Linked DNA regions of Homo sapiens: all the other regions are linked to region 1. Evidence: promoter capture Hi-C in 16 types of primary human blood cells and fetal thymus (Javierre and others, 2016). All regions are on one chromosome and are shown on one strand. The core of a region is centred on a gene start or on the middle of the fragment in contact, and the rest is flanking DNA. Distances in the headings are between cores, read along the strand shown.

The links. Contacts are between HindIII fragments. The CHiCAGO score rates a contact against its expected background, and 5 or more counts as called.
Region 2: a fragment that was not itself captured here is called in contact with the fragment with the promoter of LYN in region 1 in 1 of 17 cell types (neutrophils); the score reaches 7.5 in neutrophils.
Region 3: a fragment that was not itself captured here is called in contact with the fragment with the promoter of LYN in region 1 in 1 of 17 cell types (neutrophils); the score reaches 6.0 in neutrophils.
Region 4: a contact is called between a fragment that was not itself captured here and the fragment with the promoter of LYN in region 1, in 7 of 17 cell types (naive B cells, erythroblasts, total B cells and 4 more). The highest score is 8.6, in naive B cells.

The regions. Positions count from the first base shown.
Region 1 is chr8:55,877,793-55,881,243 of GRCh38, forward strand. It overlaps LYN (LYN proto-oncogene, Src family tyrosine kinase), which reads left to right and starts at 2,043. Exons shown (of 13, transcript NM_002350.4): 1 at 2,043-2,311. RefSeq lists enhancers at 1,137-1,226, 1,787-1,846 and silencers at 1,997-2,056, 2,077-2,246, 2,327-2,616, 2,647-2,826. The HindIII fragment of the contact is 13,046 bases long and covers 1-3,451 here.
Region 2 is chr8:56,089,942-56,093,094 of GRCh38, forward strand. No RefSeq gene overlaps it. Among named protein-coding and RNA genes, the nearest start is that of CERNA3, 17 kb to the left of the region's middle. The HindIII fragment of the contact is 2,438 bases long and covers 34-2,471 here.
Region 3 is chr8:55,736,914-55,740,020 of GRCh38, forward strand. It overlaps TMEM68 (transmembrane protein 68), which reads right to left. Exons shown (of 8, transcript NM_001286657.2): 8 at 1,845-3,107. Among named protein-coding and RNA genes, the nearest start is that of TMEM68, 35 kb to the right of the region's middle. The HindIII fragment of the contact is 3,116 bases long and covers 169-3,107 here.
Region 4 is chr8:56,061,240-56,064,444 of GRCh38, forward strand. No RefSeq gene overlaps it. Among named protein-coding and RNA genes, the nearest start is that of SNORD54, 11 kb to the right of the region's middle. The HindIII fragment of the contact is 4,265 bases long and covers 1-3,205 here.

The sequences.
Region 1 (3,451 bases), core at 793-3,292:
CCTCTGATCACTGCCTTCTGTGCTCAATTTAGAGAAAACTGGTGAGATAAATCAGTCATCAATCAATTAACCAATCAATCAATACTAATGAACTATTTTAAAGCACCCAACATAATTTCTGGGAGGTAGAGTGGGGAATAGATAAATATAAAAGGCAGTGCCTTCCCAAAAGGAGTTTACCAGTAGTTGAGGAGACAAGCCTAACATGGGCAAACAATGCTAAAAAGTACCTAGGTCTAGTTTAAAATAATGTTGCACACCATACATGCTACAGATGCTTTAAAAAGTTGCCTATCAATAGGAGCTTTAAATAAAACTTTCCTGAGAAATAGAACTTTCATGGGACATTAAGAAGGAAAGACAGATATGGAGAATGATTGAATGAAGTATTCAGCAAGTATAAATGCAGCCTAAGAAGTGGAAATTAGCATCGTATCGTTTTTTTCCAAATAAGAATGAAGAGATGAACTTAGTGAGGACAATTTTGTGAGGAGTTAGGGAGTTGGGGATCTGGTTGCAAGCTCAGGTAAGCCTGATGATGCTTTGTTCCTTACCCTGAGAGACATTTTACCAAAAACACTGACAGACATTCCTGATAGATTAACCAATACCAAACGTTTTTGAATCCTATTCTTATTTGCCACACACGTTTAGTCAGGATCTCAAGGATTCATCAGTAGCAGCAGAAACTTTAATGTAGGGTTAATATATTTGAGAGGTCATTCTTAAGAAAAGTCTAGGCAATAGGCCCTCAGGTAGTGAATTATTCTGTAGGATTCATTGTTTTTTGTTTCATTTTGTTTTGTTTTGTTCTTTTTTCATTTTTCTATTTTTCTCCATAGGATTCTTGATAGGTTTCAATCACACACCTTCCCATGGGTATTTCCATGGGCAACCCACCCCTTCTCTTCAGCAGTAAACTAACAACTACATACCAGTGAACATCACAGGTATAAACCACCTTTCTTCTTTTAAGGAATTAGTATGCAAACTTTAGTACTCTTTTCCTAGTAACAAATAACTGCTGTATCAGATTGTGTCACAAGGCAGCTGCTTTGACTTATTGCTCTGTAGCTGGGGTCAGCCTCTTCAGAACATTGTTAATGAGAGAAAGGAAGTGCTTTGGGCAGTGTCTGGCCCATCAGGCCCTCTGTAAATGTTTGCTATTAATGCAATGCTGAGATCCCAGTGAACAGAATCTGGCTTAGAAGAAGTGGGTATCCACGGTGCCCGAGCCTAATCTTACATCTTGGATTTGTAAGTGGCATTTATTGAGTTGAACATGAGCTTGAGCACGCGGTCACACATTCTTTCAGCAAACACTGGTTAGGCACCAGCTGCTACGTGCAAGCACTGCCCTACATGCTGGGACGCAGCTGTAGTAGGAATGAAATAACGCCAGCATTCCTGCATGCGGGCAGTGCGGGCCCTGTACAGAAAGGTACACGAGATAGGCATCCTCACATCCATTGTCCTGGGAGGAAACTGAGGCTTTGAGAAACGGAGAACTTGCCGGGCCATTTGACTCTACGTCATCCCCTCCCCCATCAATGCCCTGAACAGCCTCCTGTACACCCTTAAGGAACTTACTTTGTAATGATTATTAAGAACTCAGCGAGACCCCGAGCATCACCTCGGCATATCGCATCCTTTCTCTAGAGAACCCCTAATGTTGGAAGGGATCAGAGCGCACCTCCTCCGCTCCTGGGAGCACCCCCTTCCTAATAATACCTTGGGGATGGGTCGGAAGGAAAGGAAAGGAGACGCGAGAGGTGTAGTCGATGTGCCTGCGAAGCCCAGGCTCCTCTGGAGATCCTTCCGTCCGTCCCTACAGGAGAAGGCTGGCCCGGGCTGCTCCACTCCCCGGAGCTGCAGACTGAGTCGCCAGGTTTCTGTGCCTTCAAAGCCCTGCGCGACGGCCACACCAAACACCCAAACCTTGGGCAGGGACCAAACGGTCACTTCCCCGCCCTCCGGGCTCAATATGCAAATCCGAGCACCAGGAAGTAGCTGGGACCTCTCGGCCGAGCCCAGAGACAGCCAGTTCCTCTCCCGCCGCGCCGGGCCGCGCTGCCGCTCGCTCCCCGGCCGTGGCGCCTCCGGGCCAGACGCGCTGCAGCCTCCAGCCCGCGGCAAGCGGGGCGGCCGCGCCACCCCCGGCCCCGCGCCAGCAGCCCCTCGCCGCGCGTCCAGCGTTCCCGGCCAGCAGCCTCCCCATACGCAGGTCCTGCTGGGCCGCCCCGTCGCGCCCCCCACTCTGAACTCAAGTCACCGTGGAGCTCCGCCGCCCCGAAACTTTCACCGCGAGCGGGTGAGTCCTCTGCGCGAGCCCAGGGGTGGGCGCGGGCACGCGGGCAGTGGGTGCAGGGGCCGCGGCTGTGCCACCAGCCGGAGTCCCGGGCGCAGGGTAGACTCGGGGCCGGGGGCATCGGCGCGGCCCGCGGCGGCTTCCTGGCCGCACCGCCTCTGGGCTCCGGCGGCGAAGGCTCTTAGATGTCTTCAGCCGACGGGTGACCGGGCCCGGGGGAGCCAGGGCGCGGGGACTGAGGCTCCGCAGGTGTCCGCCGCGGAGCCGCGCAGGGGAGCGGTGGGAGGTGCGGGCGCGGGGGCGGGCTCACCGCGTGTCCTTCCCGGTGAGGGCCCGAGGGCCGGCTGCTGTCCCTGCTCCGGCCGCTTCTCGCACACAGTGGGGAAGCCGCTGCCCTTGCGGAGCGGGCGCGCGGCGGGGATACTGGAGAGGACTCCTCGGATTGTGCAATCTGATCTCCCCTCTGGACCCTGGGTCTCCTGGCAGTGGGAGATGGGGCTCGGCCGGCGCCCTCTCGAGGCCCGCGGACAGTTGCCCTCCCTGGTGGCCCCGGGCAGGAGCGTGACGTCGAGGGGCTGCAGCGGAGGCTGGAACTCACCCTCCCGCTGCGGCGCCTCTCGGCCTGCCGAGGAGCAGTCCGGTGCTTTTGCCGGCTGAGAGGAAGCGAGAGTTATTTTAAGAATTCAGGGGTTGCCTTTCCTTCGCCTTGGGGGAAGGGCGTAAGAGTCAGTTCCCACTTTCCTGCATTCTCTGGGCCCATGGTGGCATCTTTTGCTTGCGGTGCATTCGTAACTTTCCAACAGCCTGCCTGTCATGTGGATTAGCGGTTGTGTTTTTGTATATCCGAGTGTGTTAATTATCCCAAATTCGCCCTTCTTCGCCAGCTCAGAATCTAGGCCTTGCACTTTTCTGGCTGTATATTTAGGGGACCGATTATTGAAATTCCCTGTTTGAGTTTCTTCATCTTTGAGAGAGCATATATACCTCAGGGGCTGTTTAGTACACACAAAGCCCCTAGTACGTACCAAGCATTTCATAAACGATGTTACTGTTATTTATTGCAGTGAATTCTATTCATATAAATGAGGCTTCTTGGTTCTTTGCAGCTTGGTGATGTTGAAGCTAAGACTACCATGTCAGATT
Region 2 (3,153 bases), core at 3-2,502, 210 kb after region 1:
GCCAGTTTCCCTTTGCCTTCAGTCATGAGTGGAAGCTTCCTAAGCCCTCCCTGGAAGCAGATGTGGGAGCTATACTTCCTGTACAGCCTGCAGACATGTGAGCCAAATAAACCTCTTTTCTTTATGAATTACCTATTCTCAGGTGTTCCTTTATAGCAATGCAAAGGGACTATCCCAGAAGCCAATAGGCAAACCCAATATGTGGGACATTTAATAGAAAATAAACCTGGTTTGGTCAGGTGTGGTAGCTCACACTTGTAATCCCAGCACTTTGGGAGGCTGAGGTGGGTGGATCACTTGAGGTCAGGAGTTCGAGACCAGCCTGACCAACATGGCAAAACCCTGTCTCTACTACAAATGCATTAGCTGGGAGTGGTGGCTCGTGCCTGTAGTCCCAGCTACTCGGAAGGCTGAGGCAGGAGAATCGCTTGAACCTGAGAGGCAGAGGTTGCAGTGAACTGAGATCATGCCACTGTACTCCAGCCTGGGCGACAGAGCAAGATTCCATCACCAAAAAAAAAAAAAAAAAAAAAGAAAGAAAGAAAAGAAAATGAACCTAGTTTCTGCAAACAAGCAAACAAACATTTGGGTGGGGGGAGGAATCTAGATTAAAAGAACACCTAAAAGAAATGTGTGCATCTTATTTAGATGTTGATATAAACAAAACAACCATAGAACATATTTTGAGGCAATTAGGGAAATTTGATTATTGATAAATCATTTGATATTAGTGAGAAATTGTTAATTAAGAGTGATAATGACATTATGGTTATGTAAGAAAGTGTCCATATTTTAGAGATGCTAATAGAAGGATGAAGAAATAAAATGATGTGACTTTTGTGTTTGCTTAAGTTACTTTGGTAAAGAAAGAAATAATAAAAAAACTAAATGAAGCATATTTGTTGAAGATCATTTGACCATATACACAAGAGTTTATTTCTGGGCTCTATTTTATTCCATTGGTCTATTTGTCTGTTTTCATGCCAGCACTACACTGTTTTGATTACTATGGCTTTGTAATATGTTTTGAAATCAGGAAGTGTGAGTCATTTAACTTTGTTCTTTCTTTTCAAAATTGTTTTGGCTATTAAAGATCTTTTAATATTCCATATGAATTTTAGGGTAATTTTATTTCTGCAAAGAAAGACATTTAGATTCTGAAATAGGATTCCACTGAATCTGTAGGTTGCTTTGGCTAGTATGGACATTTTTATAATATTAAGTCTTCCAGCTGGGCACAGTGGCTCATCTCTGTAATCCCAACATTTCGGGAAGCTGAGGTGGCCAGATCACCTGAGATCAGGAGTTCGAGACCAGCCTGGCCAACATGGTGAAACCCTGTCTTTACTAAAAATACAAACATTAACCATGCGTGGGGGTGGGCGCCTGCAATGCCAGCTACTTGGGAGGCTGAGGCAGGAGAATTGCTTGAACGGGGTGGGGGCAGAGGTTGCAGTGAGCCAAGATAGCGCCATTGCACTACAGCCTGGGTGACAAGAGCGAGACTCCATCTTCCAATTCATAAACACAGGATGAGGCCGGGTGCGGTGGTTCACGCCTGTAATCCCAGCACTTTGGGAGGCCGAGGTGGGTGGATCACGAGGTCAGGAGATCGAGACCATCCTGGTTAACACAGTGAAACCCCATCTCTACTAAAAATTACAAAAAATTAGCTGGGCATGGTGGCAGGCGCCTGTAGTCCCAGCTATTCTGGAGGCTGAGGCAGGAGAACGGCGTGAACCTGGGAGGTGGAGCTTGCAGTGAGCCAAGATCGTGCCACTGCACTCCAGCCTGGGCAACAGAGCAAGACTCCATCTAAAAAAAAAAAAAAATTTTAAACACAGGATGTCCTTCCATTTATTTGTGTCTTCTTTCAGCAATGTTTTATGGCAATGTAAAAGCCTTTTACCTCCTTGATTAGGTTTATTCCTAAGTATTTTGTTCTTTTGATACTATTGTAAATGGAATTGTTTTCTTAATTTCTTTTCAGATTGTTTATATTATAAAGAATTTCTAGAAATTGGAAAACAAGAAAAGTTTTTTTTTAAATAAATAAATCCACAGCCCTCCAGACAACTAACCCCAGACAAACGAAACTTTAATTTCGGTCTTTTCTCTGTGTGTTTTAAGAAAAATTTCTTGATTTTAAAAAGCACTTATAATCAAACAATGTGTAATTTTGTACTCTGCCCCATTCATTGAACACTATAGTACAGCCATTTCTGTTATCACAATCTTCATATCCTTTTGAATCAACTGTTCTATTGCAATTTATTTAACTAGTTTAAAACATTTATCTTTCTTTGAATTTCTTACCAGAATAAATGGCTCTTGGTGATTTTTTTTCAATTAAAATTCTTATTTTATAGTATTTCATAGGATGGAGGTCCAGAAGCAGAATTACTGAATCAGTGAATATAAATATTTTTGAGGTTCTTGATACACTGCCAAACTGCAGTTATTTTCCAAAAAGCTTTAATAATTTATATTGTCACTAGGAGTGGCGAGATCTTCTTTTACCACAACTTTATTCAAATTAAGAATTGTGTATGTGTGGGTGTTTTAAAAAAAGATACCTTATTTTAAATTTGCAATTCTTCAAGTACTTGTGAGATCACGTTATCCTGTTTTTCATATTTGTCTCCTAAATGCATATTCTTTATTATGAATTGAACTTTCAAGATTTTCGTTCGTTTCTCTATTAGGGCATGATGATTTTTATGTATGTGTGTTCTTTTTCAATTATTCTTTTCTTTTTTCCTTCCTTCCTTCCCTCCCTCCTTTCTTTCTCTTTCTTTCTTTCCCTTCTTTCCCTCCCTCCCTCCCTCCCTTCCTCCCTTCCTCCCTCCCTCCCTCCCTCCCTTCCTTCCTCTCTCTCTTTCTCTTTCTTTCTTTCTTTCTTTCTTTCTTTCTTTCTTTCTTTCTCTCTCTCTCTCTCTCTTTCTTTCTTTCTGTCTTTCCTTCTTTCTTTCTTTCTTTCTCTTTCTTTTCTTCTTTTTGTTTTTTTGAGACAGGGTCTAGCTCTGTCGCCCAGGCTGGAGTGCAGTGGCACAATCTCAGCTCACTGCAACCTCCACCCCCTAGGTTCAAGTGATTCTTCTGCCTCAGCCTCCCAAGTAGCTGGGATTACAGGCGCGTGCCACTACGCCAGGC
Region 3 (3,107 bases), core at 477-2,976, 140 kb before region 1:
TGCAATTTACTATCAGATGATCTAGGAGAAAAAGTATAGATACATATGTGGAGACAGCGAGGGCAACAGGAGTGTGAAAAGAATAAAACAAATGTGACATGTTACCTTGGTGAATCTGGGTGAAGAGTGTATGGGAGTACTCTGCACTATAATTGCAACTTTTCTGTAAGCTTCGAATTGTTTCAGAATGAAAGTTTTTAAAAATGAGCAAGAAAAACTTCCCATAAGTGCGCCATGTTTACACTTCTGGAGAGAGGCTCTTCATACTTGCATCAGGTTCTGACTGTGAACACTCCTCAAAAAAGGGTCAAGACACATGAATAGAAGTGATAAGAAGGGAAAGAAAAATTATGAAAAAAAACTGATACACCTTCTTCCCATTACTTATATTTCTTTTGTTTTAATTTTTTTTTTTTTTTTTTTTTTTGAGACAGGGTGTCATTCTGTTGCTGAGGCTGGAGTGCAGTGGCACAATCATGGCTCACTGCAGCCCTGACCTCTCCAGGCTCAACCTTCCACCTCAGCCTCCCAGGTAGCTGTAACTGCAGGTGTGCACTACCATACCCAGCCGATTTTTGTGCGTTTTCTTGTAGAGACAGGATTTCACCCAGGCTGGTCTTGAATTCCTGGGCTCAAGTGACCCAGTTGCCTCAGCCTCCCAAAGTGTTAGGATGACAGGTGTGAGCCACTGAACCCAGCTTAATTTAAAAACAAAAAAATTTTATTTGATAAGAGGTCTTGTTATGTTGTCCAGGTGGTCTCAAACTCCTGGCCTCAAGCAATCCTCCCAAAGTGCTGGGATTATAGGTGTGTGCCATCATGCCCAGCCATATTTCTATATTTAGTCATATTCTCTGACTCTTATAAATGGGAATTAAACTCAAATAGCAAAGATAAAGATCTGAAGCAATGATGTTAGTCTGAATATCAGGGTTTTAAAAAAAGGTTTTAATTAAAGCAGTAAAACTTAAATATTGTAAAAATAATAGCTTTTGCCACATTAGCAATAAATGCTGTTCTTTCTTTAGTCTTTATTAATAGAACCATGGGCTTGCTCTATCACTCAGGCTGTGCAGTGGCACAATTGCGACTCACTGCAGCCTCGAACTCCTGGGCTCAAGCAATTCTCCCGCCTCAGCCTTCCAAGTAGCTGGGACTACAGGTTCATGACACCACTCCTGGCTAACTTCAGTCTTTAAAACTCAATAGTTGACCCAAAACAAATTTCTCATTCATTTTATATCATTTATTCATTCATTCTGAAATATTTCATCAATTTTGAACCAAACACTGCTCACTGGTGGGGGGAGGAAACTGCAAGTAATCATTAATTGACTCTTCTCATTGACCACAAAATTAAAATATATTTATTACACTGGAAAGTGAAGTTTCTTCATTGTGGCTAGATCAAAGAATATGATTATAGGTGAGAAATGTGTAAAGAGTACAACAAAAAAATCAATTTAAAATGACTATTTAGGGTGGGCGCAGTGGCTCACACCTGTAATCCCAGCACTTCGGGAGGCTGAGGTGGGCGGATCACTTGAGGTCAGCAGTTCAAGACCAGCCTGGCCAACATGGTAAAACCCTGTCTCTACTAAAAACACAAAAATTAGCCAGGTGTAGTGGTACACTCATGTAATCCCAGCTACTCAGGAGGCTCCTTCAGAAGACAGAAGGAGCATTGCTTGAACCTGGGAGGCGGAGGTTGCAGTGAGCCAAGATGGTGCCACTGCACTCCAGCCTGGGAAACAGACACAGCGAGACTCCATCTCAGAAAAAAAAAAAAAAAGATTTTTAAAATGTCACATGTAATTTCTCAAGAAAATTAACTGCAACTCAGGTTTATTTTCACATTGTTTAATTTTATGTACATTTCACATATCATAAATACACACAATACAAAAAGCTATACAAAAACCCTACTAATTCAACATTTAAAAAAGGGAGAGGGAGATACTGCATTTGATTTCTGACACTTTTCTGTTTAAATAATACTTAAATTCAGTTTTCAAGAAGACAACAAATTGAAAATCATTAATTTTTCAGAGGGCTTTGTGTTCACATAAATTCATCATTCAGGCTGGGCATGGTGGCTCACACCTGTAATCCCAGCAAGTTGGGAGGCTGAGGCAGGTGGATCACCTGAGGTCAGGAGTTCAAGACCAGCCTGGCCAACATGGCAAAACCCCATCTCTAAATAAAAACAAAACAAAACATAAATAAATTCATCATTCAAGTATATTTTTATTGAAGCAATAAACCACTTCACTGGCTGTAGAGTCAAACTGGGTAAGCCTCAATATTGAGCAAAAGTAGAGAACTCTTGCTTTCCTCAGCCTAGAATCAGCTTCTAACACACGAAATGCAGAGCACAACAGTGATTTTTAAGCTGGCATTATTAAGACCACAGTATAGGGCTGACAATGCACAGCACACCCTATATTGTTTGCCTATAGACTCTTGTTAAAAATATCATACTAAAAATAATAATTAGAAATTTTATTTTTCCTAATTTTTTATTCAATTTAAAAAATAATACATCTTTTTCATTGTGCTTGGCAACTGGACATGACATAATTTAAACACACAATGGAGAAAATATATACATAACTGCTAAAGGATTTTGACATTGTTTAAATTAATTATTTTATTATTTTGGTTCAACAGTTATCAATCACAGTAAATATAAATAACAAAATAATATCATTCATCATACGATCATGTTTTTAAAAAGTGAATTGTTGAGGCACAAAAACATTACGTGACTTGCCCAAGGTCATGAAGGGAATGAGGGGCAGACAACAGCATGTTTTTTCTAACTTAAACAACTATACTAACCCCTAGCTTATACCATCTTTCAAAATCAGCTCAGGGCGACAGATACAGAAATTTAACGCATTATCCAGGAATGTTTGTTTAACCTAAACTGCTGTTATTAATAAACTTAAGAATCTATATGTTTAGCATAAATTGTTAGGAATTTACAAATAAGACATCTTTTTCTGAATTACTAGGTGTGTAATTTGTTAGTATTTGACACAATTGCAAAAACAAAATTGACTATTTTAAAGAAACGAATTCTGTGAAAGATGCTTATTAACATG
Region 4 (3,205 bases), core at 31-2,530, 180 kb after region 1:
CGCCATGATTAAGTTTCCTGAGGCCCTCACCAGAAGCAGATGCTGGAGCCATGCTGGTATAGCCTGCAGAACCATGAGCCAATTAAACTTCTTTGCTTTATAAATTACCCATCCCCAGGTGTTTCTTTACAGCAACACAGAAACAGACCAACACAATGGCCCAATCAAATGAACAAAATAAATCTTCAGCAACCAACTCTAAAGAAGTAGAGAACTATGAATTAACTGATAAACAATTAAAAATAATCATTATAGAGAAGCTCAATTAGCTAAAAGAGAACACAAATAGACAACTAAACAAAGTCAGAAAGACAATGCATGAATAAAATGAGAATATCAATAAAGAAATTAAAACTATTAAAAAGAAAAACACACATTCTGGAGTGGAAAAATAGCTGAACTGAAAAATTCACCAGAGGACAAATATGTAACAAAGTAGAGTTTTCGTAAGTGATTAAAGTTAAGTTGTATCAGTTTAAAATAGATTATTATAACTTTAAGATGTTTTATATAATCCCCATAGTAACTACAAAAAAAATACTTATAGAAGATACACACAAGGAAAAGAGGAGGGAATCAAAGCATGTCACTACAAAAATTAATGAGGCCGGGCAAGATGGCTCACACCTATAATCCCAGCACTTTGGGGGACCAAGGTGGGCAGATCACCTGAGGTCAGGAGGTGGAGACCAGCCCAGCTAACATGGTGAAACCCCATCTCTACTAAAAACAAAAAATTACCTGGGCATGGTGGCGCATGCCTGTAATCCCAGCTACTCTGGAGGCTGAGGCAGGAGAATCACTTGAAGCCAGGAGGCGGAGGTTGCAGTGAGCCGAGATCGCGCCATTGCACTCCAGCTTGGGCAACAAGAGCGAAACTCCATCTCAAAAATAAATAAATAAATAAAAATAAACTAATGAAACATAAAGGAAGGCAGTACAAGAGGAAGAGAGAAAAAATAGTTACAAGATACACAGAAAACAACAAAATGGCAATAGTAAGTCATTCATTATCAGTAATTAATTTAAATATAAATGAATTAAACTCCCCAATCAAAAGACACAGATTGGTTGAATGAATTAAAAAAAAAAAAACAAGATCCAACTGTATGCTTTCTATAAGAGATTCACTTTAGATCTAGGATGCACATAGGCTGAAAGTGAAAAAATGGAAAAAGTTATTCCATGCAAATGGTAACCAAAAGAGAGCAGAGGTGGCCATTCTACTGTCAGACGAAGTAGACTAAGTCAACCAGACAGAAGATCAATAAGGAAACAAGACTTGAACATTATAGACCAATTAGACCTGATAGACATATAGAGAACACGCCATCCAACAACAGCAGAATACACATTCTTCTCAAGTGCAGAGATCATTCTCCAGAATAAATCACAGGTTAGGCCACAGAACAAGTCTTAACAAATTTAAGAAGACTGAAATCATACAAAGTAATCGTTTCCAACCACGATAGAATGAAACTAGAAATCAGTAGCAGAAGGAAAACGGAAAATCCACACACATGTGGCAATTAAAGAGCAAACTATTAAACAACCAATGAGTCAAAGAAGAAACCACAAGAGGCCGGGCACAGTGGCTCACGCCTGTAATCCCAGGACTTTGGGAGGCCGAGGCCTGTGGATGACCTGAAATCAGGAGTTCGAGACCAGCCTTGCCAACATGGTGAAACCCCATTTCTAAGCCAGGCACGGTGGCTCACGCCTGTGATCCCAGCACTTTGGAGGCTGAGGCAGGCAGATCACTTGAGGTCAGGAGTTCGAGGCCAGCCCAGCTAACATGGTGAAACCCCGTCTGTATTAAACATACAAAAAATCAGCCGGGTGTGGTGGCAGGAACCTGTAATCCCAGCTACTCGGGAGGCTGAGGCTGGAGAATTGCTTGAACCTGGGAGGCGGAGGTTGTAGTGAGACAAGATTGTGCCACTGCACTCCAGCCTGGGCAACAGAGTGAGACTCTGTCTCAAAAAAAAAAAAAAAAAAAAAAAGAGAGAGAAAGAAAAAGAAAAAAATAAATCACAAGAGAAATTAGAAAATATCTTGAGACAAATGAAAATGAAAATACAATATATCAAAACTTATGGAATGCGGTGAAAGCATTACCAAGAAGGAAGATTATAGCTGTAAATGCTTACATTAAAAAAGAAGAAATAGGCCAGGTGTGATGCCTCATGCCTGTACTCCCAGATCTTTGGGAGGCTGAGGTAGGAGGATTGATTAAAACCAGGAGTTCAAGACTAGCCTGGACAACATAGTGAGAACCCATCTCTACAAAAAATAATAAATAAAAAATAGCTGGACATAGTGGCCCTGTAGTTACAGTTGCTAAGGAGGCTGAGGTAGGAAGATTGCTTGAGCCCAGGAGTTCGAGGTTGCAGTGAACTGTGACCCTTCCACTGCACTCCAGCTGGGGTGACAGAGCCATACTGTATCTCTAAGAAAAAAGAAGAGGAAATAGCTAAAAGAAACAACCTAATTTTATACCTCAAGAAACCCCTAATTTTATACCTCAAGAAACGCTTTTTATTATTATTGTTCTTATTTTTTTATTTTTTTTTGAGACGGAGTCTTGCTCTGTCGCCCAGGCTGGAGTGCAGTGGCGTGATCTCGGCTCACTGCAAGCTCCGCCTCCCGGGTTCAAGCGATTCTCCCGCCTCAGCCTCCTGAGAAGCTGGGACTACAGGCGTCCGCCACCACGCCCGGCTAATTTTTTTGTATTTTTAGTAGAGATGGGGTTTCACCGTGTGTTAGCCAGGATGGTCTCAATTTCCTGACCTCATGATCCGCCCACCTCGGCCTCCCAAAGTGCTGGAATTACAGGCGTGAGCCACTGCGCCCTGCAAGAAACCCTTTTAAACCTCAAGAAAAAGGAGAAAAAATGAAACCCGAAGTTAGCAAAAAAAAGGAGGAAAATAACTAAGATTAGAACAGAGATATAAATGGAATTTAAAAATGAAACTAAGAGTTGGTTTTTTGAAAAGGTCAAAAAATTGGCAAACTCTGAGCTAGATTAACCAAGAAAAAAGAGAGAAGATAACTAAAATTAGAAATGCCATATGGGACATTATAAATGATGCTACAGAAATTAAAAGGATTAACAAGAATACAATGAACAATTATACACCAGCAAATTGGGTAATCTAGAAGAAATGGATAAATTCCTAGAAATATACAGCATACCAGAACTAAT